4 separate regions of the Homo sapiens genome follow, and all the other regions are linked to region 1. Evidence: promoter capture Hi-C in 16 types of primary human blood cells and fetal thymus (Javierre and others, 2016). All regions are on one chromosome and are shown on one strand. The core of a region is centred on a gene start or on the middle of the fragment in contact, and the rest is flanking DNA. Distances in the headings are between cores, read along the strand shown. Region 1 holds the start of ITK (IL2 inducible T cell kinase). Region 2 overlaps NIPAL4 (NIPA like domain containing 4). Region 3 has its middle 48 kb from the start of TIMD4. Region 4 has its middle 32 kb from the start of ADAM19.

Region 1 (7,109 bases), core at 3,722-6,221:
TGAGACGGGGTCTCATTCTGTCCCCCAGGCTGGATTGCAGTGGCATGATTTCAGCTTACTGCAACCTCCACCTCCCAGGTTCAAGCAATTCTCCTGCCTCAGCCTCCCAAGTATCTGGGACTACAGGCGAATGCTACCACACCCAACTAATTTTTGTATTTTTAGTAGAGACAGGATTTCACCATGTTGGCCAGGCTGGTCTTGAACTCCTGACCTCAAGTGATCAGCCCACCTCAGCCTGCTAAAGTGCTGGGATTACAGGCATGAGCCACCTTGCCTGGCTCTTTTTTCTCTTTATTTAATAGAAATGAGATTTCCCTGTGTTGCCCAAGCTGGTCTTGAACTCCTGGGTTTAAGGGATCCTCCCACCTCAGTCTCCCAAAGTGCTGAGATTACCAGCGTGAGCCCCCATGCCCAGCCTCTGTGGTTCATTTTCAAGGAAATTTTACCCAAGAGGACAACCTATGTCCTGACAGGACAAATGAATCCCGACAGGAGCTGGAACAGCTAAAGCCCAAGGGCTGAGGGTTGGGCTCCTTGGCCAAGGAGAGTGGCAACTCCTACATCAGGGAAACAGTTGTCAGAACCTTCAGCTGGAAAATCTCTGAAAACAGCAAAGCACATGAAACATGCAAGAAAAAGCAGCAATTGTTCATCCACCACATCCCAAGGACATCATCCCCAGATTACTGCTGCAGCTTCATGAACGTTGCACCCTTTACCCCTCTTCCTCTTTTCCCTCCAGCCTGAGCTTCCGACTCAGGTGTGTCAGAAACCAGGCTTGTGTGTGGGAAAAGAGAGGTTAGGACATGGTGGAAAAGCCAACATGCTTCAAATCCTGAAGCAAACCCATGCAAAGTTACGGAAAAGCATCAACTTGAATACATGTTTGGAGTTTTGATTATTACCTTGAACTGAACTGGGCTTTCTTTTTCTTTTCTTTGTATTGTTGTTGTTGTTGTTGTTTTGAGACAGAGTTTTGCTCTTGTCACCCAGGCTGGAATGCAGTGGTTCAATCAGCTCACTGCAACCTCCGCCTCCTGGGTTTAAAGCTATTCTCCTGCCTCAGTATCCCAAGTAGCTGGGACTACAGCCACCTGCCACCATGCCCAGCTAATTTTTGTATTTTCAGTAGAGACGGGGTTTCACCATGTTGGCCAGGCTGGTCTCAAACTCCTGACCTCAGGTGATCCACCCGCCTCGGCCTCCCAAAGTGCTGAGATTACAGACGTGAGCCACCGCGCCCAGCCCCTTTTTCTTTGCTTAACTTTTTATTATGGAAATTTTCAAACGTGCATCGGTGCAAGGAGAGTAGAATAATGATGTACCCATTAGCCAGCTTTAGCAATTATCAAGTCATGGTCAAACAGTTTTCATCCCTTCCCCTACCAATTTCTCCCCCTCCACTGGATTATGATGAAGCAAATCATAAACATTTTATTGTTTTATCAATAATTCAGTGTATGTTTCTATACAAAATAAGGACTATTTTAACATGATAATAGTGCCATTATTACATCTTTTTTTTTTTTTTTTTTGAGATGGTGTCTTGCTCTGTTGCTCAGGCTGGAGTGCAGTGGTACCATCTCAGCTCACTGCAACCTCCGCCCTCCAGGTTCAAGCGATTCTCCTGCCTCAGTCTCCCAAGTAGCTGGAATTACAGGCACACAGCACGACACTCCACTGACTTTTGTATTTTTAGTAGAGACAGGATTTCACCATGTTGGCCAGGCTGGTCTCGAACTCCTGACCTCACGTGATCCGCCCACCTTAGCCTCCCAAAGTGCTGGGATTATAGGTGTGAGCCACCACACCCAGCCCATTATTACATCTTAAAAAATAACAAGTTTCTCAGTATTATCAAACATCTCTTTAACATTCAAATTTGTCTAATTGTCTCATAACGTCTTTATACAGTTGATTTGCTTAACTCTTAATCCAAAGTCCAAACATGCTCATATGTCTCTTAAAGTCTCTTTTAATCTAAGGGTTCCCCCTTTGATTTATTTGTTGTTTTGTTTTGCTTTTGTTTTTTGAGACAGAGTCTGGCTCTGTTACCCAGGCTGGAGTACAGTGCTGCAATCCCAGCTCACTGCAACCTCCACCCACTGGGCTCAAGTGATCCTCCCACTTCAGCCTCCCGAGTAGGCGGGACTACAGGTGTGTGCCACCATGCCTGGCTAATTTTTTGTAGAAAAAGGGTTTCACCATGTTGTTCAGGCTGGTCTTAAGCTCCTGGGCTCAAGCAATCCACCCCCTTGACCTCCCAAAGTGCTGGGCTTACAGGCATGAGCCACCGTGCCCTGCCCTCTATGACTTATTTGTTACTGATACTGAGTCATTTGTCCTTAGCATGTTTTGTATTCTGGACTCATCCAATTGCATCTCCACAGTGTCATTTGTCAGGTTCGTTTATCTCTTGTATTTCCTGTAAACTCGAATTTATATCTCGAAGTTTGATTAGATTTGTGTTTGATTTTGTTTTCTCTTGGCAAGACTCCCGAGTTGCCAGTTTTGTGTACTTCCTCTTGCTTCACCTCAGGAGACATACAATGTCTGGTTGTCCTTCTTTTAAGATTAATCAGTGTGTTACAGTGTTGTCAGCTTCATATGACAGTTATACATTTTCCTATTGGCTTTTTGCGTAATAATTTTAACAGCCATTGATGATCATTGCCTACATTTATTATTTCATTGGCATTGCAAAACGATAGTATTCTGTCACTCCTTCATTGATTAGTTTCTTGGAAAAAAAGAACTTCCTCATTAAATACTTGATCACTGAATTGAAAGATAATTCTTCAAGAAAAGCAAGCAATATGTTTTATTTTTTTCCTTTGTTTCCAGTTTTCAGAAAAACAAGTTGGTTCTTCAGCATCCTCCAAAAGTGATCAAAAGGTTGGGATGCTTTTTTCAATTCTCTTTTGAACTCATTGTTTTAACATTTTTGCTGTTCTTCAATTCATGGCAATTATTATTCCTTTTGATACTCAAATTGTTCCATCTTTGGCAAGTGGGAACTCCTTGAATTTGGCTCCTATGAAGTGAACTTTTTAAAACCAAAACAAACAAAGGGACTATTTGTTTTTGTTTATGTTTTCCTTAAAGTGAGAAAAAAATATTGAGCCTCCTAAGTTTGCATTTAAAAGTTGGCAAAGATGAGTCTCAGTTAGTGGGTTTGATGGCTCTATGAGAAAGAGAATAAAATTACTTACGATGACACTCCATGTAGACTGAGCAAACGAAAGACTCCTAAGTATTGCAACAGCTACTGATGATATTTTGTTTTCCCGGATGAGAACACTTTGTGAAGTCTATAACTCTTTTCATCTGAACCAAGCAGGTGTAAAATGTACTTTCCTCAGAGGAGTTTGTAGTCTAGTTTGAGAAGATAGCACTGTATTATCTAGGTTTGCTGGTAGTGACAGAAACCTCAAAATAACTGAGACTTAGAAAATAGATATTAAAAAATGTAATCCAGGGCTGGCATGGAAGATCCATGGTCACCAGGGTCCCAGGCTCTTTCTATCTTATACTCCATTGTCCTCAACATTCAATTTCCACCTCATGATACTAGATAGCTGCTTCAGCTCCAACTGTTACCTCAATATTCTAGTCACAAGGCAGGAGGAAAAGGGAAAGAAAAGGGGATGACAGATCCCACTAAGGAAATTTCCTAGAAGTTGTGCACACGACTTCTGCTACATTCAGTTGACCAGAAGACAGTCATACAACTACACCTAGCTACAAGGGAGGCTAAAATTTGTAGTCTTTATTCTTGCTGGCCAGATGCCCAGATAACTGTCAGGGATTCTGTTACTCTAGTAAGAAGGAGAGAGTAGCTATTTGGGAATAGTAGCAATCCCTACCTCAAGCCCATACTCAGAAAAAAAAAATACTATCTTGTTTGGGCAGTGTATTTCCACACATATGTCTTAAGAATCTCAGAATGGGGGAGGTAATTTAAAATATACCAGTACCGTACCCTCCTGGGTGTCTTGATTATGCTGGGGCATCCAGTATATGAAATAAAATTAGGCTGTTGTCTGGTAATTTACATTTAAAAATAAACATTGGAGAATTTCACTCCTATACAGCAATAATTATTATTTCATTTATTATTTATCCCTACCCACTACATGCAATATCTGCTTACACTAAAATCTCTTGATTATTAACATAGTAGAGGTAACTGTCACACATTATACTTCAACTATGTACTAACTCTAAGGTGACATGTATGACTAGCACCTACCATTCATAAGATGTATGGGATTCAGTCCTCCAAAGGACCCTCACAAGGAAGCTAAGGATCAGAGAAGTCATGGCTTGCTCAAAGAGAAACAGCATAGTAAGTGACAGAGCTGGGAATCCAACACAAGTTTGTCTGTTTTCAAAGCCCACATATACTTTGTTTATTATGCCATTCTGAAGGATTCACTTATTTTTCACTCTTCCACAAAACGTCAGGACAGAAAGGCAGTCATCTATATGTAGCATTGAGAAATTTCTATGGGCTTTAATTTAAATCTTAAAAACTAATAAACTTCAGCAACATATTTCTTCACTTTAATGTGTGAGGGTTTTGTGCTCATTACCTCTTTTAATTGTCCAACCCAATTTGGTGATGATCCATTCAACAAATTTTTCTTGAACATCTGTTTTATGTGTCAGGTACTGTGATGGTTGCTGAGTATATCATGGTAAGCAAAACCACACATTGTCCTTACTCCTTGTGCTACATGATTTAACTGCTGGATGGATTAAACCAGGAACTATAAAGATTAAACTGTAATCCTTACCACAATTTTGAGTTTACAGTTTTTCAAATATCATTTCAAGCCATTAGCAAAGGCTGTATGTATTTTTTACATATGCCTCCTCGTTTTGTGAATTTTGAAAGGATGTGGTTTCGGCCTTTGACATCAGAGGAGAAGCTCAGCTATGTTGGCTGAACGTTGATAGAAAGATAACGTTGAAGGCAAGTTGCCCTTGAGCAGCTCTCTGAAGATCAACTGCCTCCACATTGCATTCTTTGCCCCAAAACTCTTTCCTTTGGTTGTGCTAAGAGGTGATGCCCAAGGTGCACCACCTTTCAAGAACTGGATCATGAACAACTTTATCCTCCTGGAAGAACAGCTCATCAAGAAATCCCAACAAAAGAGAAGAACTTCTCCCTCGAACTTTAAAGTCCGCTTCTTTGTGTTAACCAAAGCCAGCCTGGCATACTTTGAAGATCGTCATGGGGTATGTGAGCAGTTTCATTTGTCTTTTTTCGCATAGCATTTTATGTTTGGACTGGGCTAATGCAAAAATATATACATAGCATAAAATAGAGCACAGGAAACACAAACATGCTTATTGTAACAACATAAAAAGTACAGTAAAAGTAATCAGAGGAGAATGCAGAGAGCAGTCAAGAGGTGAAATGGTGGTGCTAGGTGATTTCAGTTCTAAAAACTGTAAATTTAACATTCATCAGCTTTTTCCCCCTGCAAGGTTATGTTTGGTTTTTAAATTATGAATAACATTTTAGGTAGCAAGTATTATGATTCGATAAAACTTGAACTTTCTATGAAACATACTAAATTTAATGAAACATACTAAATTTAATGAAACATAGATTAATACAACACTAGCATTCAATGGGATGATCTACCCCAGCTTTCTTATTTTTTAGTGGAAGAAACTGGTGTTTAGAATGGTTAAGTTTTGGGTTCAGTGTTAACGTTTTCATGAATAACTCTGTTTGTCTCAATACTCGTCGCTAGCCTGATCTTGAAATAAGATTTCCCAGGCATTTAATTATCTAAAAGTTGTAAGGCACAATGGCAAACCTCTTCATCTCTTGATAGACTTCTTAGGACACCAGGGTTATTAAGAACAAAGTTTCTGCAGTGCAGACCAGCGGTTCTTACCCAGAAGGAGTATGGCTGCTTTGCTAGGTCAGTCTATCTCTTTATCTAAAAATAGTCTTGTGCTTCTTAACATCACTAATAACAAAAGCAACAGGAATAATCCTAATAATGTAGTTTGGTAGAAAAAGCATTGGACAAAGGGTCAGGAGACCAAACTCTACTTCTCAGTAGGTGATCCAGTCTGGGCAAATGTCTACCTCCTGTTTCAGGTTCTTTCTTCATAAAATGAAAAAACTGGAAATAACAACCTTCAAGATCCCTTTCTTCTTCAAAACTTCTTTGCTTTATGCAGTGGCTCTTGTTTAGCCCTATGCTGCAATTTTTCAAAGCATGTTTGATTTCTTACTGTATGGTTATATTATTTTTACATCATTAGTGGGGTAGGACAAGGATTATCACTTATATTTTACTGAAGGGAAAATAATATTAGGTGCCTGATGGTCACTTAGAAACAAAAGTGCTCCAGTTCTTTGTTGGAGTCTGACTTAGTAGGTGGTGGCATGAGTTTGGGATTCTTTGGTGTGCCAGGGTTTAAAGCACTTCATGAGATGGAGCTCCAGAGGAGGTCAGGCTGGGTATAGAGCCTATGGATGCCTCACTTTTTAAAGTTGCAGGTGTTGCATGTCTTTTGTGAATTAAAAAAATACAGAAAACAAAAAAGTTGCAGGCGAAATAGCTCTGCCTCTTTAGAAGTGAAAAGAATTGCTTGTCTTATTATCAGACTCTTACTGATAACAATTTACCAGTCAATCAGAAAACACATGGAATTACGTGCAAGTCCTCTTTGCTAGGTGGCCAGGAGCCCAGTTTGTGAACTTGGGGGATTTATCATGTAGAGCTAATAAATCGCATGGCATTACTCAATGCTTTTTTGTGAATGGAACATTTAAAGTTTTTGTTTCATATTGAAAGAACAGTCATGTACCTTTAAATATTTTTTTCAAAGTCCATTTTGCAGTTTTCACCAGTTCGTTTTTCTGATTCAACATAGTATCATCTCATTTAGTTAGTATTAATAATTCCTTAGCCCAACTGCTATTTGTGAACTGATTGTGAATTCAGCTCAATATTATTTGTAAGTAATCACAAAACCAGATGGCCTTAATTCAGAATATTATTGGTCATAATTTGCATGTAGACAAGGTTGTAAAATCACCCTACTTCTTTATCTGAGCATTATGGAAAATTTCA
Region 2 (7,583 bases), core at 166-2,665, 290 kb after region 1:
TTCAAAGACCTGGACATCAGCTGCGCCAGCTTGCCCCACATGCACAAAAACCCACCCCCTTCTCCCGCCCCGGAACCCACTGTTATTAGACTGGAAGACAAGAACGTCCTTGTGGACAATATAGAACTTGCCAGCACCTCATCACCAGAAGAGAAACCCAAAGTATTTATAATCCATTCCTGAAGCTTGGAATATGTGAGTGAGAGGATGAGTCCGATGGTACAGCCTGCCCTCCCAATTTCAAAACCACCTGGTTATTTTCCAGTGCAACTGTTACCAATGGGCTCTCTTTTCTTGAGAAGTTCATTTATACCTCATCACTGTTTCCAGGAGAAAAATCTTTACCCAAATAGCAATGGTGGCAGAACTTCCTGGAAACAGATTCAGTGACCAAATACCCAAGTTTACATCAGTGCCTGCAGGTTCCCTGGACCTTCCTTCTCATTCATTCTTTCGGTGCCATCTCTATGCCGTTGGGAAGAAGATGGAGTCTGACCCACTGAATGTAGCACAGTCCAAGGACTTCTCTAAGATATTGGTCATTGGAAGTTCCTTCACACCAATTCTCCTCCTGAGACGGAATCTCCGTTGTTGTTGTTGTTGTTGTTTTCTAGCCCAAGGATGACATAGAGCTGGCTCCCAGAGGCCCACAGAGCAATTGGCCATGCCTCCCTATCCAGAGCTGACAGGGACACAACCAGTGTAAAATATCCTGTTGCCTTTGTCACTTCCTCTTTGGAGGCAGAAGCAAGACCTCAGCTGACCTTCTTACTGTGAAAGCCACTTGATGTCTCAGGGAAAAATTTCAACCAGCTCATTCCCCGAGCACTCCAGCCTGGCAGTCAGCACCTCGGCATCCACCCAGTCCATCCCACCATCACCCCTTCCCCCTCTACTTACATCCTAAGGAGTCGGTCACTGAGACATAAAGGCAGTAATCGCAGAACTGGAAACAAAACAATAATAGAGCCACAGCCAAACTCTGGTGGCCAAACCCAGTGTTGCATTTTGTCTTACTCTGAAAGAAGAACAGCAAATTCACTGCTTCAAAGTGGCCTGGCTGCCAAGCTAGAATTTGGCAGAACGCACTTTACTATTCCTCAAGGAGTCAACCAACCTATGATCTGGGGAGGTGGGAAGAGGATGAGGAGCAAAGTTGGGATTTGGCAGAAGGCAGTCCCAGGCTCTCTGGATACTAGGGGCTAACTTTTGTGTTGACTCTGGTGCTCATCTGGGAACTTAGGAGAAACGAGCTCAGGGGTAATTTCTGGGTTGCAGCCTTAAAGGCTTGGACAGCTGTGAATCTCAATGGCCAACTGGAGGTGCAGACTTGGCATGGGGTGCATTCTAGCTGTTGACCAGATTGCTACCGAGTCCCCTCCTCCACTGATGAGCTGCCCACACTGGGAAGCAGCATGCCCTGACTGTTCCAACACCACCTGCTATGGGGAGTACCTTTGGTCCCCTCACATTTGGCCAGAGGCATACAAAAAACCAGAGCAGCTGGAGAGGGAGATAATTACTATTCCTTCCCTTCCTATCTCCTTTCTAGCCACAAGAGTGTGGGGGTTGGAGAAGAACCATTAGAAAGGGAAATTAGTGGGCTGGTGTATCTGGAAAGAGGGAAGACTTGATCCTCAGCCCCGAGGTTGGTGCAGGGCCTCCCCTGTGTGACTCTACCTGCACTCTGTGTTTATATCCTGTGCCCTAAGTGGGCCAAGCCCAGGTAAATTCCTGCTGGCCTTGGAACTCCAAGGTTTGGCTGACCAGCAGACTGGCTCCCTGACTCTTCAGCCTCAAATCCCCAGTTTTTGATGAATGTGGATTTCTGTCTGTAATTAAAAGCAATGCAACAAGTTGGCTCTTGAGAATGGCAGTAAACTGAGGGCCCTAAGAGTGTGGTCTGCAGGGTCAAGAATAAAGATTACAGATTATATTTACTTGATACTTGTGTCTTGACCTTCCTTGAGCATGGAGTGATTAAACTGGTTTTTCTAGGGCTGGAAGGACAGTCTCCAATCTCTGAATGAATGCGACTGCCAATAAAGCCCCTACCGTGTCTGTGGTAGTTAACACCCTTGGTAGAGTGGGAAAGATAGTTTCAGAAATAGAGTCAGTTGAAGACAACTCATCCCTAGTTAACACCTGAGCCCTTACCAGGCACCAGGCATAGTAGGTGCTTCCTGTGAATTCTCTTTAACTCCTCACAAATCCTCAAGTTAGATACGTTTTTATTCCCATTTATATAATTGCCCAAGGTCACCCAGCCAGGAAGAGCAAAGCTGATATCTGGTTTAACCACCAGGCGTAATGTGTCTCTCCAAGACTAACCTTGCCCCCAGTTGCATAATCTGTTTTGGTTTTTTGTGTTTTGAGACAGGGTCTGGCTCTGTCCCCCAGGCTGGAGGGCAGTGGTGTGATCCTAGCTCACTACAGCTTCAAACTCCCAGGCTCAGATTTGGTAAAAATGAGGCCTTGCTATGTTACCCAGGCTGGTCTCAAAACTCCTTTCCTAAAGTGATCTTCCCACCTTGGCCTCCCAAAATGCTGAGATTTTAGGCCTGAGCCACTGTGCCTTGTGCATAATCTGCTACTACTTTATTCATTTATTTTCTTGTGATCTGTGCTCTTTCCCCATCTGGATATAAGCTTCATGAGAGTTGGCTTTGATTTACTGCTTATCCTCAGTGCCTAGCACATCATACGCACTAAAAGAATAAAAGAAAAAGAAAAGATTGAAGGAACAATATCACAGTCCTTCCTTGCCCAAACTCTCCTGGGGACCAGCACTCAATGCAAGGCAGATCCTAATAGAACTCTGCATGTTAAGCAAAGCAACTGTAAACTGATGTAGTCAGCAGTTTCTCAGCACATAGCCTGCGACAGGCCCTGTTGGGGACTTGCACATACAGAATTTCATTGATGATCACGACACTTTTGAGGCAGGTATATTATTTGTATAGTGAAGAGACTCAGAAATCTGGAACTTATCCAGGCCCACTTATCTATTGAGTAGCAAGCAGAGTGAGGACTTCAACCAGGGTCTGCCCAACCAGGCTTTCTCCATTATGCTAGTGACCAACACGTGAGCATCACCCCAGAGACTGGCTGACAGCAGGGGAAGAGTGGCCTCTTAACCAGGTAGGGATGTGTGAGTGGGAAGCAATTTCATGAGCAGGCATGTTAGTAGTGAAAGCATTTGTGTTTAGATGTCTTTAGGGTCCATAGGCAACCTCATAACCATGAGAGGTTAGAAAAATATAATCAGGCTGGGTGCGGTGGCTCACGCCTGTAATCCCAACACTTCAGGAGGCTGAGGCGAATGGATCACTTGAGGTCATCTCTACTAAAAATACAAAAATTAGGCGTGGTGGTGGGCACCTGTAATCCCAGCTACTCAGGAGGCTGAGGCATGAGAATTGCTTGAGCCCGGGAGGCGGAGGTTGCAGTGAGCTGAGATTGCACCACTGCACCCCAGCCTGGGTGACAGAGAGAGACTCCGTCTTAAAAAAAAAAAAAAAAAGTAAAATCAGAGAGCAAGAAGCCTCTCTCAGGGTTTTTGTGAAGATTAAACGAGATAATCCTTATTTGTAAACAGCATGCAGTGAGTGGCTCACGTATGTTAAATACAGCTGTTCCTTGGTATCTGCAGGGGATTGGTTCCAGGACCCCCATGGATAACAAAATCTAAGGATGGCCAAGTCCCTTATATAAAATGGTATAGTATTTGCATATAACCTACATATATCCTCCCATATACTTTAAATCATCTCCAGATTTCTATAATACCTAATACAATGTAAACGCTGTGTAAATCGTTGTTATACCGTATTTTTAAATTGTATTACTTTTTATGGTTGTACTTTTTTTTTTTTCAAATATTTCAACCTGCTGTTGGTTGAATCCATGAATTTGAAACCCACGGATATGGGGGGCCGACTGTACTGAGTAACTGTTACCTTCGATCATGGTTATTAATCCTCCATCTCTCTGAGAGAACCTCAAAATTGAGGTAGGGATCAATGAGAGAATAAGGGTGGGATCCTTTTATGGACTGGGAAGCACTAATGAATACGAGCTGTGATATCACGCAGGGTTCTGGAATCAGAAAGCACACCCAACCTTATCCCTGGCTGTGCCTGCCTACCCAGCCCAAGAGACCTGGGGCAAGTGTCTCCCCTCTTTAAAGTATGATCCCTTGCCTTAATAAGATGAGGAGGTGAGCAGAGGCTCTCAGCTGTCTTCTATATGCAGTAGTGTAGGATGAGAAAAAACATATCGAAGAATCTCAGGATCATTCAGGCCTTTAATAAGCAGCCTGCGTCCAGGTGTAAAGACAAACAGCCCCCTCTACTGGTCATAGGAAAACATAGGCTTTGCTGTGGCTCAGGGTCCACCATGAAGGCTTTATAGGCTGAACTGACCATCCTTGTGGGAACTCTTTCTGAAGTCCACGTCATGAATCCTATCTAATCTGAGCAGTAGGACATTACAACAAACACACAATAAAGAGCTGCCAAACCAGATAACATTGCAAATGACAAACAATTCATTTTTAATTAAATACTAACAAGGAAAAAAGGCACCATGGCCCATTCAAGTATTTTGCATAGATGTACAAATATTGTAAACAATTAATAGGTGGACAAGAGAGAAGAAGATCTGTTTTCCGTGAACAATCTCCCAAATAAAAAGAAAATTCACATTGCCCTGGATCCCAGACACATACAAACGCACAGTGGACGGTGTGAGAGGACGCGTTGGGGGTGACTTTGGAAATGTGGGCTTGGATTCTACAGAACCTCTCCTTCGCAGGCTCCCCTGGGGAAGGGGACCTTTCCAGTTGGCGTTCCCATGGCTTTCTTGGGTGTCCAGCAGAGCTGTTATACACGTGGTTAACACAATTACTGACTTTGGAACTGGTCCCCAGTTTTCAAATTGCAAGTCTTCCATACCCTCTGTCAAATAAGAATAAATTAGGAAGTAGGCAGGGAGAGACTTCCAATAAAGATTGGAAAGGCGTATTGCAGGAGGTGGGGAGGGGCTATTGCTTCAGGGGGAAGGGACTATGGCAATACAAAAAAACACTCCAACCAGAAAATCAGCAAGTCTCAGACCTTAAGATCTGCAAGTGTCTCAGAGCTGGGGCAGAAAAAGGCTTTACTTTTATAGGGAGAAGTCAGCAAGGCTGAAAGGAATCTATGGCTAGCAGGCAGTTACAAGATTGAGCCAGGTGCCCAGGCTAAGGCTTCTAGAGACAGGGAGACAGGGCACTAAATCCCTTGAGGTTTGTTTTAGAGATGGCTCCAAGGCCCTTAAAAAAAAATTCTTGGGTTGTAAAATTGGCAGGAGGTTAATTTCACTTTTAAAAAGATTTACCTACATCCCCATCTGCACAAAGAGCTTGCTAACTCACTAACCCAAACTTGAGTTAAGCTTCCCTCCTCCCCACCAGACCCTGGACTTTGGGCCATCCTCAGCCTGAGCCAGCAAACAGCCCCTCCCCTGGAGACAAAAAAAAAAAAAAAAAAAAAAAGGCTGGGCACAACGTCATTCCCTGAACGTGGTTCTTTCTAGCCATGTTTACTTCTTCCAATAAAAGAAAAGTCCTTTTCTGCCTGGGCTTTGAGACGCTTGCAGATCTTGCCATCGGTCGGTCTGAGCCTTTTCACTATTCCCATAAGGCCCCTTCCTCTCCCTTTTGCAATATTCCCTTTCCCCTTCTGCAATCGTGCTTTGGAATAAGGTCTCTCCTTCCCTAAGCCCAGATTTATTTGTATTTGACACCTCAAAACAGCATACTGGGCACTGGAAAGAAAAGGGGATGCATAATGGCCAGTCTTCCTCCTGGGCAGCCTCCCTGAACAGAGCCAGGAGTGAAGCATTAGTAGAACTGGTTGCCGAAAGTCTATCAAATTCCAAAACATTCCACCATCTTCCAGTTCACAGTACAACTTTATGGGATGGAGGTGATATGAAAATAATAAAACAAAACAAAACAAAAAGCAAGAAAACGACAACCCAGGTCTCTTTCTGGTGTGGTTCCAGGGAGGGTGGACTGCAGGTTCAGATGGCTCATGCAGTCACTATGGCTGTGGCGCTGTCATTTCAGAGCTATCTACCTCCTGATGTGAGGGAGAAAGGCTGGAGAAGCCACAGGAAGCTCTGTGAGGCATGGGGTTGGGTTTTGAGGATGTTGCTTGTTTGTTTTGCAGAGGGGTGAAAGGGGATGTTTTCACCTTTACTTTCCAGGAACCAAGCCTTGAGGCAGAGGGTAGCACATTTAAATAAAAGGTTGGGCCACAGGAAAGGTGGGGAATGGATCTCCACAGCAAGGATGACCCACAGCAAGGATGACCCACGGCAAGGACATGGGGAACCTGTATCACAGCCACCCTGAGGGAAGAGAAACTCATTTTCCTGAGATCTTTCTAAACCCAACCCAGGCTTTTCCCCCAGGGGTACATCCCGTATTTTCCACTTATTTCCAAACCCAAGAACATCCAAGAAGCACCTATTGTGTGCAGAGAACTATAAGGAGGCCCTGGGGTGGTGAATCAGAAGCTCAGCCTCAGCCTTGCAGTGAGGTTTTCAAGAGCAAACAATTGCTCATGGCAGGATGGGAGGAGGCCCCAGGAAAGCCTCAGAGGAGTGAGAGTCAGGCCAGCTCCTGTCCGGAGAGCCACCCAGCACCTTTGTGGAGTGGGAGTCTATCTCCCAGCAAACATCTCCAGGTGCTTTGCAAAAACCGTCCTATCTAGCAAAGCACCACACGGCCCTCCTTCCCTGCTGCAGGGAAGACAGGAGCCACCGCAGACCCCCTCACCTGCTCAGAGCTCTCTTTCTGTGAGGGTCAGGTAAGGGCAGTGACCAGAGAGAGAACAAAAGGAAGTGAATGACAAAAAGCTGGGTTGAGGAAGAGGCTCCCTGCTCTGACTGTTCCAGTGCAGCTGCTGCTGGCTGCCTTCTCCAGTGATCTCGGGCAGCTCCCAGAAATGGGTCTGTTCTCTGCTCAGAGGGCAACGGTCCAGCCCGAAGTCAATGACCAGCCTGCTCCCTCGTGTGTACTTTGTAAATAGCTGGGCTCCCTAAGGGGAAACCTCACCTAGATTTAGCTTAGAGTAAGGAGGAAGACCCCCACCCTGCTGAGGTCACAAAACACAATGAAAAATAAACATATGACCCCAATGGCCATGCCCCAAGTCTACTCTGGTCACACTCCTGAGAGCCAGTGAGGGAAATCCAGTGGCCGACTGTGAGAGAGGACTCTGACTTGTAGGTCACAAGCACCTGGTCACCCGAAGGTCAGGACTGCTGAGGGTTTGCTCACCAAAGCACCACACATTAGAGGGAGAATGAGAGGGGAAGGAAGAGAGAAAAGCGTGGGGCACCAGGAAAGTGCGGCAGAGAAAACAAAGAGCAACTAAAAATTATCCAGAGTCAGGAGTCGCAACCTTTGGCATCACGGCTCAGAGGAAGCCCAAGCCCGGTGCTCCTCCTGCTGTCTACACTGCCTACGAATAGTACCTGTCTGAGTCAGAGTGACCCGTGTGAATACAGGGATGCAGGGGTTTGGGGAGAGG
Region 3 (7,544 bases), core at 644-3,143, 270 kb before region 1:
CTTCCAGAGTAATTGGTCATTATCTTTATGCCTCAGATCTTCTTGAGCGATATTGATGATTTCCATATGCAAAATCACATGGGGTTAGTAGAGCCACACAAACTTAGGCCAAGCTTTGTTCTGATTAATTAGAAACATTATTTTCTGGTGCAAAGCTACCCCCTCTCTAGGGCTGAAGTTTGCAAACATTGCTGTATATTCAAATCACCTGAAGTGCTTTAAAAACTGATGCCCATGTCTCCTCGTTGTGAATCAAATCAGGACCTCAGATGGGAGCCAGGCATCAGTATTTTTAAAAATGTTTTAATTATTTATTTATTTTATTATTTTACTTTTTGAGATGGAGTTTCGCTCTTGTCACCCAGGCTGGAGTGCAATGGCGTGATCCTGGCTCACTGCAACCTCCACATCCCAGCTTCAAGTGATTTTCCTGCCTCAGCCTCCCGAGTACCTGGGATTGCAGGCGCCTACCACCATGCATAGCTAATTTTTGTATTTTTAGTAGAGGTGGGGTTTCACCATGTTGGCCAGGCTGGTCTCGAATTCCTGACCTCAGGTGATCCACCCTCCTCGGCCTCCCAAAGTGCTGGGATTACAGGCGTGGGCCACAGCATCTTGCCTAAATTTATTTTTAATTGACAATAATTGTGTATATTTATGGGGTACAAGGTGATGTTTTGATCTATGGATCAGGCATCAGTATTTTTTAAGTTTCTCCATGTGATTCCAGTGTGCAGCTGAGTTTGAAAATCAATGCTTTAGACCAGGACTTCTCAAACTTTAATGTGCACATGAGTGACCTAGAGATCCTAGATGTTACAAGGTGAATTCTGATTCATAGGATCTATGGTAGGGCCTGGGATTCTGCATTTCTAATATGCTCCCAGGTGATGACAAAACTGCTGGTCTGAATCTCACACTTCGAATAGCAAGGGTCTAGATATAAAATGTAGATCTAGTAGTAGTCTATTCTAACAGCGGATCTGAACAAACTAAATTCCATTTGGGTTCAACTGCAAAGTCACAGGAAAAGTGATCACTGCAATAAAGTCAAGAGCAGGGGCTGTGAGTGAGAGAACTGAGAGGATGGTTGTTTTTGATCTCTAGTTTATAGACTTAGGTTGACCAACCATCCAAGAGAAGCCATCTTTGCAAAATTATAACGATGAGAGAAATCTGACACAGTCGACCCCATTTTGCATAACTGACATATTTTGACCCCATAGTTTCCACAATCCCTTATTGCTCAGGAGTCATATGGCCAGAGATCACAAGGTTTGCGACTTCCCCAGTTGCTCATCTAGGTAACATCACTACTGTAGAAACTAAGATTGGTTTTTTGAAATATTTTTTCAACAGATCCCACCCGGCCTTGTGACTCATGATTCACCCGGTCCTGTGGCCCCACCCAGAGTTGGACTCAGCACACAAAGAAGTGTTCCACACCCCTATGATTTCATCCCCAATTTATCAGCAGCACCCTTTCCCTAGACCCCTGCTCTCCAAACTGTCCATAAAAACCCTAACCTTCAAGCCTTTGGGGAGATTGATTTGTATAATAACTCTATTTCCCATGTGGCTGGCGTCATGTCCATTAAACTTTTTCTCTACTGCAATGCCGTGTTCTCAATGAACTGGTTTTGTCTGTGCAGATGGCACAGGAAGAACCTATTGGGTGATTACACCAGTTTGCCCAGGACTGAGGGGTTCCTGGCATGTGGGACTTTGAGTTTTAAAACCAAGAAAGCCCAGAGCAAATTGAGACAAGTTGGTCACCATAGTTATGGTGCTGCTAGGAGAGCAGCAGAGCAGCCAAGCTGTGCGCTTTTTGCATTCTGATTCCTCTTCCTGGGGGCAGCAGCCCACTATAAAGCCAGGGGTGTGCTAAGATAGATGGCTTACGGAAAAGGAACGCTGAATTGCATGGCCACACCAACAAGAACTTAATTACATGACTCCAGAAGGGCAATAACAGGGCAGATTCTGTGAAAACTCCAGAATCTTAGCCACAGAGACAAGTCTAGAAAACACAGTTTAGTGCTTTGCTCTAGCACTGGTTAACTGTGGGACCTGGGCAACTCATGCCCCCTTTCTGAGCCTCAGTTTCCTTGGCTGAAAATGGGAGTGAAACTGACAGATGTGTGCGAGTCTTTGCTGTGCTCCCACCCCATTATTTCACATACAGTATGGATAATGCATATAACCGCACAATAGCACCTTTTCAGCACAAGCAGCAAATCCACCTTCTGTTTTGCGAGCAGCCATTTCCAGTGCTCCCCAAACTCCCTCTGGATAGCATTAGCATTCATCTTATTCGGGAACACTTCCCTTCACTGTCCTTTGATGCTCAGAGAGCTGAGAACTCACAGTGCTTTTTTTTTTTAAGGCTGTAACATATTTACAAATCTAAATGAAGCTCTATTTCCAGACCCAGTCTTTCGGTTTTGAGTGGCTTCCTCCTTCTGCTCTCACCTCCACCCAGGGAGCCCACTTCTCAACTTCCTGTTTTCTTTAGAGAGACAAAGAGTCTCCCCAGCCACCCATTGCTGGATTCCTGTTAACCTTTCATTAAGCCTGCTGACAGCTGGCTTTAGCTCTTCATGAGTTAGTTCAACACATTCCCATTTAAATGTGTCCCACCTGGCTTCATTAAGTTTCCTGCCAGGTTCTCCCTTTACAGCTTCCTCTGCAAATGCAAATCAGATTCTGAGTAAATAATATGGGGACAAGGGAAGATTGAGCTATAATGGGGTTGTAACTGGAAAGCCATTGATATACTCAGGTTGCTGTGGATCAGAGGACACTGAAATCCATTTGAGTCCAATGCAGGTCAGTGTTACAGAGCCATATGCATGAAGTCTGGAATTGGAGCCCTCACTGTGAAGTACAGGGTAGTGGTTAGAGTGTGGAGTCCTTCAAGCCTGGTTCAAAACCTGGCTCTGCTACAGGAGATTGGACGACGTGACCTTGAGCAAGTTCCTTCACCTGCCTGTGCTTCTGTTTTCTTAGCTCCAAAGCCAAAATAATATACCCGCTTTATTGAGCTGCTGTCAGGAGTCAATGAGATAATTGCCTTGAAACAGTTAATAGAGTACCCAGAATATAATAGGTGCTCATTACAAATTGATAGTATCTCCTGTGTTTAGCCTAGAAAGGCCATGGTGAGGAATTAGGTTGCTTTAAATTGAGCTTGCATGCGGCCCAGGATGGCTTTGAATGTGGCCCAATACAAATTGGTAAACTTTCTTAAACATTATGAGATTTTTTTTGCGATTTTTTTAGCTTATTAGTTATAATTAGTGTTCGCGTATTTTATGTGTGGCCCAAGATAATTCCTTTACTTCCAGTGTGGCCCAGGGAAGCCAAAAGATTGGAAACTCCTGCTTTAAATTGTGAGGTTTGATTGTGGATCCACCATATAATCATTAGCTGTAAGAAGCACATACTGCATCACATTCCTTCCTTATGGAAATGGAAAAACAACATTGATTCCATTCGATTGCATTACCTTTTTGTTTGTTTGTTTGTTTTTTGAGACAGACACAGTCTTAATCCGTTTCCCAGGCTGGAGTGCAATGGTGCGATCTCGGCTCACTGCAACCTCCTCCTCCCAGGTTCAACCGATTTTCCTGCCTCAGCCTCCCGAGTAGCTGGAATTACAGGCACCTGCCACCAAGCTTAGCTAATTTTTGTATTTTGGGTAGAGACAGGGTTTCGCCATGTTGGCCAGGCTGGTCTCAAACTCCTGGCCTCAAGTGATGTGCCACCTCGGCCTCCCAAAGTGCTGGGATTACAGGTGTGAGCCACTGCACCCGGCCTATTCTATTGCATTTCCCATGTGTGTTTTGTCTCATTCAGAAGTGAAGCTCCTTAAAAGAAGCAATTCTCTCTCCTGGGCCCCACATACAATAGATACCAAAAAGTTATTTATAGATGCTAACAATTCATCCTGATTACACAAAGAGGGAATGAGAGGAGCAACTACATCCACAGCCTCCTCTGATCAAGGAGTCTCAGTATAAGAATTATATATTTATTTTAATTCATCTTTTACTAAAATCCACCCTTTATCCCCAGTCTCAAACTGGCTACCTTGTTTTAGCCCACAGCCATGTTTTGCTTGCCCAGGAAATCATTTTAACTAATTTTAAATTTTAATGCCCTTAAGTGGACATACACTCCGATTTATCATGGGCCATGTCATCTCCCTTTGACTCCCTCAACTGTATCAGCTGCCTGGCCTCTAAATTCATCAGAGTTTGCCACCTCTGCCCCAGGCAGAGCTAAGTGTGCTGCTTCTAGGTAGGTCTAGGGGCCAAGGATGAAAAGGGCTGGAAGACAGGAGACAGGAGACCCATACCTGTATTGAAAGAGGGTATCTCTGCCACAGCATGGAGAACAGACAGGAAAAGGAGTAAAGTCAGAGATTATAATTAGGAAGATACTGCAGGAATCCAGCCAGAAAGTGCTATCAGCTTAAAGGAGATGAAGCAGCAGGACCTTTGCCCCTGGTACTGGAAGCTCCTGACCCTCTGTCTGGCCAAGCCCACCACCACACAGCCCTGGTAAAGGGAGATTGTTTTCTTGAACACTTTATCTGTTAGGAATTACTACAGTGCAACATTTCTCAAACTCTAACGCACATCAGAATCATCTGGAGGGTCTGTTAAAACACAGTTTGCTAGACTCTACCCCCAGAGTTTCTGATTCTGGAGGTATGGGGTGAAGGACATGAATCTGCATTTCTATCAAGTACCAGTGACACGGAGGCTGCTGGTCTGAAGTGCATAGTTTGAGAGCCACCGGGCTAGACCAGCATTTTTCAGAACTTGGTTCCATATTAGAACCACTTTGGGACATTTTTCAAAAATTCAGATGCCCAAGTCATACCCTGGACCAATTACAGAAAGAATCTCTTAAAGGGTAGGACTCAGGAATTGGCATTTAAAAAGCTCCCCAGTTGATTATTCAGCTAACATTGAGAACTACTAGGACAGAGGCTCCTGGAGGCCATTACGAGCTCTAAAATACTATGATTGCTCATGTTAGTGTTTCTTAGTCGGTACAAGGAGTTTCAGAAATACATTTGGGAATCGATTGAAAATACCCCTTTGCAAAACAGAAAAGTAATATTCATTGAGTTTAAATGTTCTGTTTAGGAAGTGTCTGTCGTCTTCTTTTTCTAGTCAGACCCAAGCTGGTAGTGACATTGATAATGGCGGTGGTTTTGGAAGGTGGATAGGGAGCATGAGCTAAGTTAGGGTTGGGTGTATCATTACCTCACAAGATACTATAACCTGACTACATACACAAAGCCATCTGGCCCCACTCCATTTTCTAGATGGGGAAATTCAGGCCCTGAACCTGGCTCTAGACCCACTTCCCCAACGTTTCTAAATAAATGTTTGAGTTTAGCACACTAGACAAAGTCACTTTAAGTATCTTAAGCTGACATCAAAGCCAAGTTGACCAAAAAAAAAAAAAAATTTTTTTTTTAAAAAAAGGGCCAGGCACAGTGGCTCACGCCTGTAATCCCAGAACTTTGGGAGGCCAAGGCAGGCAGATCACCTAAGGTCAGGAGCTCGAGACCAGTCTGGCCAACATGGCAAAACCCATCTCTACTAAAAATATAAAAAATTAGCCAGGTGTGGTGGCGGGCGCCTGTAATCCCAGCTGCTTGGGAGGCTGAGGCAGGAGAATCGTTTGAACCCACCAGGCAGAGGTTGCAGTTAGCCAAGATCATGCAATTGCACTCCAGCCTGGGCAACAACAGCAAAACTCCGTCTCGAAAAGACGAGAAAAGAAAAGAGAAGAGAAAAAGAAAAGAAACAGCTGCCAATCTGCTGCTAATTGTTTTCATCATTGGTGCCAATCATTCTGCCCAACTGCAACTGAACAAGTCAGAAGTCAGGCTGCCTTGGGCCAGTTTTTCCAAGTACCCAGGTGAGGGGGATTTTTACTAACTGTTGGATCAGTGTTGTGTGAACTAATAGGACAAAAAAATCTATAGGCTTCACCAGTCAAGTAATTAGACTGACTTTTTTCTCTCTTAAATGTAATGTCAAGAGAGTTGAAATCCAAAGATGGCTACATTTAGAGAACCACGTACTTATTCCATTAATGTTGCTATTGCTGTAAACATGCTGGGAAGTCCTTCACAGAAATGTCTTTCAGATCTGGTTTACTTTCCACATTTCTACCCAGCCAGAAGCCCCTCTCACTCAGGCACACATGTTTTTTATACATTCATTCAACAACTGTTTGCTTTAATCTCTCTCCCATGGCTCCTCGTGTTAGCAGTTATTAAAGTTTTAAAATAAACCTGTTGTTGCTGAGGAGCACATTTCCAAGATTATATTTAGAGAAACTTATTTGGATTGCCTTGCTTTCACATCCACGCACTGCCCCTGGTTGAATATTCCTGTCATTCACCACATTTTACTCCCACGGACTCTTCCCTGTTTCCAAAATTAAATTCCCCAAGCAAGAACTAGGATGTGACACTATGGTCACCTCTAAAGACACTCAAATGTGAAAAGAAAATAATAGAAAATTTAGGAGTTTTAGAAGTGAGTCAATGTTGGCCAAGTGCAGTGGCCCAAGCCTGTAATCCCAGCACTCGGGGAGGCTGAGGCAGGCAGATTACCTGAGGTCAGGAGCTAGAGACCCACCTGGCCAATACAGTGAAACCCCATCTCTACTAAAAATACAAAAATTGGTGGTCATGGTGGCATGCACCTGTAAGCCCAGCTGCTCAATCAGGAGGCTTAGGCAGGAGAATCGCTTGAACCCGGGAGGCGGAGGTTGCAGTGAGCAGAGATTGTCCATTGCACTCCAGCCTGGGCAACAGAGCAAGACTCCGTCTCAAGAAAGAAAATAAAGAAGTGAGTCACAGTTACGGTGTGATTCCATGTCATTTCCTGCATTGTTAATGAACCATAGGCTCTGTGCTGCTCATATCATACCTGCAGTGAGACAATGAACTCTGAAAGCTGGGCATAAAAGGAGAGATACGAATCCATACGAGATGAAGGCAATTAGGGTAACAAAAGAACCAGAAATTGTATCCCAGAAGCAAGGAAATTTGGAGAAACATGAGATTCTCCTTCTAATACCTGAAGAGTTAACAGCTCTCCAGTACTTCCCAGCATGCTTAGAGCAATAGCAACATTAATGGAATAAGCACATGTTTCTCCAAAGGTAACCATCTTTTGGATTTCTACTCTCTTGACATTACCTTTAAGAGAGAAAAAAAAAAATCAGTCTTATTGACTGATGGAGCCTATAGATTTTTTGTCCTGTTAGTTCACACAACACTGATCCGGCAGTTAATAAAGGAGATGTTCTGATAGGCATAAGGAGCTCAACTATGACCTATGGGCAGATGTCATCCGGAGACAGATTTTGCTATAAATATTTCTTAATCTCAGAACTGCTCTGAGATTGAATGGACTCCCTTGCGTGTGGTAAGGAGTTCACTGTCACTGAAAGTGTTCAAGTGTACTGTGAAAGATCACTTAGCGGTGATTCTACAGAGATGATTA
Region 4 (6,790 bases), core at 131-2,630, 420 kb after region 1:
CTTTAAAAGGAGAAGTTTACCTAAAGATGAGAAATACTAACTGGGGCTGAGCACTGGCTTCCTCCCAATGTCAATATTCCTGCAAGGTTTAAGGATTGGGATCCCATTTGAAGAAGCACTTGTCGGAAGAAATAATGATGTTCTGTCTTTTTCAAAGAGTCGGAAACCTTTGTGATGAACAAAGTCATAATTAAAGACCTTTAGTTCAGGATTGCACTAACAGTTTGATAGTTACGGATGACTGAGGAGAAATTTCCAATACCAATTATATGGAGCCTCTTTCTTTCTTTCTTTCTTTCTTTCTTTCTTTCTTTCTTTCTTTCTTTCTTTCTTCTTTTTTTTTTTTGAGACGGAATTTCACTTTTGTTGCCCAGGCTGGAGTGCAGTGGGGCGATCTCGGCTCACTGCAACCTCTGTCTCCTGGGTTCAAGCGATTCTCCTGCCTCAGCCTCCCGGGTAGCTGGAATTATAGGCATCTGCCACCAGGCCTGGCTAATTTTTTGTATTTTTAGTAGGGACGGGGTTTCACCATGTTGGCCAGGCTGGTCAAGAGCTCCTGACCTGAGGTGATCCACCTGCCTCGGCCTCCCAAAAGTGCTGAGATTACAGGCGTGAGGCCTACATGGATCCCTTTTCATTCAACAGACAAGCAGACAATTAAGATAATATTCTAAAAAGGCCTTAGAGTTCCAGATTAAGGAACCTTGGGACCAGGCTGACTTAGGCTAAATTCCACTCTCTCCCCCATGTCACAGGTAAGATCCATGCCTTGGAAGTTAGGTAGTTTTTGCCTTGAACATCTTCAGTAATCAGCTTGAATTTTCTAAATGCAACTTCATCATTCTGCAAATCAGCAAGACTCACTTCAAACACACGACCCTTCAGACTACCAGGTGCAATTTTGGTTCCCTGGGTCCTGGTGACCAGTGTCTTTCCAGTATTTCTTCTACTGAACATAGCATGCTTTCACATCGTACCAATCTTTCTTAGAAAATGGATCAACCAGCCAGGGGTGGTGGCTCACACCTGTAATCCTAGCACTTTGGGAGGCCGAGGCAGGTGGATCACCTGAGGTCAGGAGTTCAAGACCAGCCTGGCCAAGATGGTGAAACCCCGTCTCTACTAAAAATAGAAAAATTAGACTGGGCGCAGTGACTTAAGCCTGTAATCCCAGCATTTTGGGAGGCCATGGCGGGTGAATCACCTGAGGTCAGGAATTTGAGACCAGGCTGGCCAACATGGTGAAACCCCCGTCTCTACTAAAGATACAAAAACTTAGCCGTGTGTGGTGGCACACGCCTGTAATCCCAGCTACTTGGGAGGCAGAGGCAGGATAATTGCTTGAACCTGGGAGGCAGAGGTTGCAGTGAGCCGAGATCGTGCCATTGCACTCTAGCCTGAGCAACAGAGTGAGACGCTATCTCAAAAAAAAAAAAAAAAAAAATTAGCCAGGCATGGTAGCAGGCACCTGTAATCCCAGCTACTCAGGAGGCTGAGGCATGAGAATTGCTTGAACTCGGGAGGCGGAGGTTGCAGTGAGCTGAGATCACACCATTGTATTCCAGCCAGGGGGATAGAGCAAGACTGTCTCAAAAAAAAGAAAAAAGAAAAAAAGAAAATGGATCAGCCACTTCTTGGCTCCCTTTTTGCTGTCTTTCGTAAGGTACTTGTTCTTGCCAACCACCATGTTGCTGCTCAGAATGATCTTTTCAATAAACGGTACTGAAAGAACTGGACAGCCATATGAAAAAAATGAACTTCGACCTTTAGCTCACATCATACACAAAAATTAATTTGAAATAAATAATAGAGACAAAAGTTGTGAACATAAATACATTCAAAAGCTGTTGGAACCCCCAAAGCACTTTTTTTTTCTGGCAAAGTCCCACCTCAGCCTCCGAGTAGCTGGGACTATAGGTGCGCACCACCACACCTGGCTAATTTTTGTATTTTTTTGTAGAGACAGGGTTTCGCCATGTTGCCCAGGCTGGTCTTGAGTTCCTGAGCACAAGCAATCAGCCCACCTTGGCTTTCCAGCATGCTGGGATTATAGGTATGTGCCACCACACCTGGCTTCCAAAAAGACTTTAAACCTTGAGAGAGAACTGGTGATCTGAGTCACTTAGCATGTAGTTGCAACTTCTGCTTCTTAGATTATAGATCAACTCTCTTTTCTCATTGTTCTTGTGCTATAAATGACTGGGAGAGACCAGAGACCAGATGTCCTCCCCTTCTAATCACTGACCTTTGTTATAGATTGTCTCCTGCATTATTCTGTACCTAACTCAAACCAGATGGCGCAAAAGACCTCATGACTGTTTCATCTTCAGTATGGAATGTTCAGTATATCTTTCCTGAAAGAAAAAGATGACCTTCACCAATCAGACCATTGTAATTATGCATTAAGCCTTACATAAGGCCGGGCATGGTGGCTCACAGCAGGAATCCTAGCACTTTGGGAAACCAAGGTGGGATAATCACTGGAGCCCAGGAGTTTAAGGCCAGCCTGGGCAACACGGCGAAGCCCTGTGTCTATAAAAAATTGACTGGGTATGATGGCACACACCTGCAGTCCCAGCTACTCAGCAGACTGAGGTGGGAGGATCACCTGATCTCAGGAGGTCGAGCCTGTAGTGAACGCTGATGGTGCCACTGCATTCCAGCCTAGGTTGCAGAATGAAAGTCTGTCTCAGGAAAAAAAAAAAAAAAAAGCCTTGTATAAAAAAAGTTAAAATTCTGATTTTTTCTCCTAAACTTTGTCTATGTAAACCACCCCAAACTTCTGCACTTCAGAGCACAACAGTACAATTCCATCTTTCAAATTTGTGCTTCCTGGGTGGCTGTCCTCAAGCTTTGTGCTCAAAAAAACTCTACATTTAATCATATTTTCTAAATTTTATTATTTTAGGTTGACAAAGTAAAGGCTAAAACTATAAAACTTCTAGAAAAAAAATAGGAGAAAATGTTCACAAACTACAGTCTTATGGTAGACAAAGATTTCCTGGACAGGACACAAAAGTATAAACCATAAGAGAGAGAAAAAAAAGATAAATTAGACTTCATTAAAATTTAAAAATTGCCTGTACTTTGAAAGGTACTATTAAGAAACTGAAAAGGCAGGCCACAGTCTGGAAGAAAATATTTGCAATGCAAATATTAGATAAAGGACTTGTACCCAACATACATAAAGAACTCTTAAAATTCAATGAAAGAAGGCAACTCACAAAAAAAAAAAAAAAAAAAGAAGAAGAAGATTTGAACAAACCCTTCAAAAAAGATGATATATAAATGGCCAGCAAATACATGAAAAATGTTCAACATTATTAGTTATCACGGAATTGTAAAGTAAGGCCACTGTGAGATATCACTTAGAAGAATATTCAGCTTTAGAAAACAGTTTGGCAGTTTATTTATCCCTTACCCTATGACCCAGCAATTCAACTCCTAGGTATTTACTAGCCTGAGAGAAATGAATCACCTAAGCCCTTTATTTAGCTTCTCACAAGTTCACTGATTCACTCTGTGACACTGGCCAGGTTCTTCCCATCTCTGGCCCTGTTTTCCATCTGTGGAAAGCAGATGTATGGGTTGGGCTAGGTCAGGGATGGCAAACGACGTTTGTCTTCAGTACAAACTCCTTATCACTGCCAGGGACTGCCCAGACTACCTCTGTGATGAGAAGGAATGTCTGATAGAAATTGAGAGCTCTGTGACCCACTAACAATGTCTGCTAGAGACATGAGAATGACCCAGAAAGGCCACATACTTCCTATATGCTATATGCCCACAAAAAGATTTGTGCATGAATGTGCATAGCAACTGTATTCATAGCAATCGAAAACTGGCAATAACTCAAATTCCAGATAGATTGTGGTACATCCACACAATAGTTTATTACCCAGTAATATGAAAACTATTAATATATGCAACAACATTGATGATTCCTTTCTTTATATTGAGTGAAGGAAACCAGAAACAACTCTATGAGTCAACGTATGTGAAACTGCCGGAAAAGGCAAAACTAAGCTATACTGACAGGAAGATCTGTGGTTGCCTGGGGCTGGGGTGAGAGAGGGGACTGGCTGGAGGTGGCAGGAGACTTCTGAGGGAATGGAAATGTTCTAAATTTTGATTGGGGCAGGTGCAGACGTTTGTCAACATTCACCAAGTTGTGGCGGGGGGCAGTGGTTCATGCCTGTAATCCCAGCACTTTGGGAGGCTGAGATGGGCAGATCACTTCAGATCAGTAGTTCGAGACCAGCCTGGCCAACATGGCGAGACCCCGTTTCCACTAAAAATACAAAAATTAGCTGGGTCGGTGGTGGGCACTTGTAGTCCCAGCTACTTGGGAGGCTGGGGCAGGAGAATCTCTTGAACCCTAGAGACGGAGGTTGCAGTGAGCCGAGATTGAGCCACTGCACTCCAGCCTGGGTGACCGAGTGAGACTGTCTCAAAAAAAAAAAAAAAAAAATTATCAAGTTGTATGTGCACTTAAAATGGAGATATATTAATATATGTCGATTGTACCTCAAAAAATGATTTTTACAGAAGTAGCTTTGAAACGTAATGAACTGTTCCACAAGCACGTGGCAGGAAGAGGGCCTGCTACCAGGTATGCTGTGGGAGAAACATGGAAGTGAGAAAGGACAGGGCACCTTCAGAAACACATTAGTTTGTAAAATCGCTCTCAGCTTTGCGAAGACCTTTCAGGCGCGCTCGGAGAGGCTGGCCAATTGCTTCTCAGATCCCCTATTAGAAATTTGACCACGGGCCTAACGGGAACAGGGCTGCCACGGAGCATGGAGAGAGGGCCTGGAGCCCAGGACAGATCATTGCTGACTTGGTTCTGAGTTCTCCATAAAAAACCTCATGGCCTTTCTCCTCCTCCAGACTCACGTGCCCCACCTCACTTCCTTAAGAATCTAGGCTCACAGCACGCAGGCAGGCAGCCATCAACCCCGAGCCCCCTTCCCCTTCTCCTTCGGGGAGAAAGCACTAGATGGAATAAGTCCCGTCAGTCCCAGCGTTCAGACATTCTCCTAAGTACTGTTCTTTTAAAAAGCTGGAAAGTTGGGTTAAGGAGTTTGGGGCTATTATTAGTGCCAAACACTATAAAAAGGAAATGCCACTGATAATCTTAGATGGCTGTATTTTCATACGGGGATAATTCAAGCTTCCTTCTTAGAGTTCTCAGTCATAAGAAACCCTTCATTAAAATACTCCCTCGGGCCATAGCCTCAAACCTAGCATTGCTCAAATCCTTTGGGACTATTCAAGTCAGGACTGACCGGGAGAACTCAGCTGGCATTTTTTAGCCCATTTTTATGGCTGCCTCCTTCTGAGTTTCTCGTGTTGTTCTACCAGAGGAAAATAACGAATGATTCAACCTATGCACAAATATTTATTTGCACTGCTTACATGGAGGCGGCATAGCAAAGGGCCTTAGGGGGCAGGCTCTTGTCAGGCTTAGCTGAGCTCTGTCCCTGTGTGGCATCAGGTAAGTTGCTCTTCCTTTCTGAGCTTCCCCTACAAAATGAGCTGTCAACCCTAGGAGCTGATGCCTGGTGCCTACCACTTAGTAAACTCTACACGAATATTAATTTGTTATTACTATCACTGTTATGCATTCAGTTACATCCACCATGGATACAGCAAAAATGCCGTTTCACCCTTGAGAATCCTACATTCCACCTTGCTACACAAAGCATACAGACAGGAGAATAAGAGAACAGCAGAAGTGATGATACCCTACCCCGTGATGAAGAAGCTGCTAAAAGGCATCTCCTTTCATCTTTCATACACTGCAGGTCCTGTGCTTTGAGTGTTATTGAGAAGCAATGTGTCAATATGTGTCAAAAGTCCTTAAAATGTGTTTGCCCTTTGACCCAGATTCCCTCTAGAAATTTTCATAAGAAAACAATTACATTTGTGAGCAGAGATTTCTCCTGGATATTACTGAGAGTAACAAAAATTTGGTAACAGTCTGTCTGAATGACTAACAACGGAAGTTAAATACATATTTAGACATTATGATTGATGAACATTTATGCAAAGCAGGTCACAAAACAATATGTGCAGTGTAGGTCCATTTCGAGGGTATGACCTGAAGTACAATTTTTAAATCGATACATAATAATTGTGCATATTTATGGGGTACATATAATTTGATACAGGCTTATAACGTGTGATGATCAAATCTGGGTAATTGGCATATCCATCACCTCAAACATTTATCATTTCTTTGTGTTGGGAACATTTCAAATTTTCTCTTCTAGCTATTTTGAAATATACAATAAATTATTGTTAACTGTAGTCACTCTACTTTACTATTGAACACTAGAACTTATTCCCTTCTATCTAACTGTATGTTCAGACCCATTAGACAACCTCTGTTCATCCCCCCCTTCCCCACAAATAGTGGTTTGTTTTTTTATTTTGTTCGCCTTCAGAAACACGTTAGTTTTATGAGAAGGAATCTTGCTCTGTCACCCAGGCTGAAGTACAGTGGCGCAATCTCGGCTCACTGCAACCTCCACATTCTGGATTTAAGAAATTCTCCTGCCTCAGCCTCCTGAGTAGCTGGGATTACAGACATACCATGCCCAGCTAATTTTTGTTTTTTTTTTTTTTTTTTTTTTCAGTAGAGATGGGGTTTCACCATGTTGGCCAGGCTGGTCTCGAACTCCTGACCTCCAGTGATTCCGCCCACCTCAGCCTCCCAAAGTGCTGGGATTACAATCATGAGCCACTGTGCCTGGCCTGAAATCGTGTTTTTGTTAAGGATTTATTG

What was found. Contacts are between HindIII fragments. The CHiCAGO score rates a contact against its expected background, and 5 or more counts as called.
Region 2: a contact is called between a fragment that was not itself captured here and the fragment with the promoter of ITK in region 1, in 3 of 17 cell types (M0 macrophages, M2 macrophages and erythroblasts). The highest score is 5.7, in M0 macrophages.
Region 3: a fragment that was not itself captured here is called in contact with the fragment with the promoter of ITK in region 1 in 1 of 17 cell types (non-activated CD4 T cells); the score reaches 7.0 in non-activated CD4 T cells.
Region 4: a contact is called between a fragment that was not itself captured here and the fragment with the promoter of ITK in region 1, in 1 of 17 cell types (activated CD4 T cells). The highest score is 5.4, in activated CD4 T cells.

What each region holds. Positions count from the first base shown.
Region 1 is chr5:157,175,869-157,182,977 of GRCh38, forward strand. It overlaps ITK (IL2 inducible T cell kinase), which reads left to right and starts at 4,972. Exons shown (of 17, transcript NM_005546.4): 1 at 4,972-5,247. The coding sequence starts at 5,110. The HindIII fragment of the contact is 39,229 bases long and covers 1-7,109 here.
Region 2 is chr5:157,472,778-157,480,360 of GRCh38, forward strand. It overlaps NIPAL4 (NIPA like domain containing 4), which reads left to right. Exons shown (of 6, transcript NM_001099287.2): 6 at 1-1,945. The coding sequence ends at 183. ADAM19 (ADAM metallopeptidase domain 19) reads right to left here. Exons shown (of 23, transcript NM_033274.5): 23 at 4,527-7,583. Among named protein-coding and RNA genes, the nearest start is that of NIPAL4, 16 kb to the left of the region's middle. RefSeq lists an enhancer at 6,150-6,660. The HindIII fragment of the contact is 2,464 bases long and covers 184-2,647 here.
Region 3 is chr5:156,911,731-156,919,274 of GRCh38, forward strand. No RefSeq gene overlaps it. Among named protein-coding and RNA genes, the nearest start is that of TIMD4, 48 kb to the right of the region's middle. RefSeq lists enhancers at 878-2,077, 2,078-3,023. The HindIII fragment of the contact is 3,564 bases long and covers 112-3,675 here.
Region 4 is chr5:157,603,949-157,610,738 of GRCh38, forward strand. No RefSeq gene overlaps it. Among named protein-coding and RNA genes, the nearest start is that of ADAM19, 32 kb to the left of the region's middle. The HindIII fragment of the contact is 2,938 bases long and covers 1-2,849 here.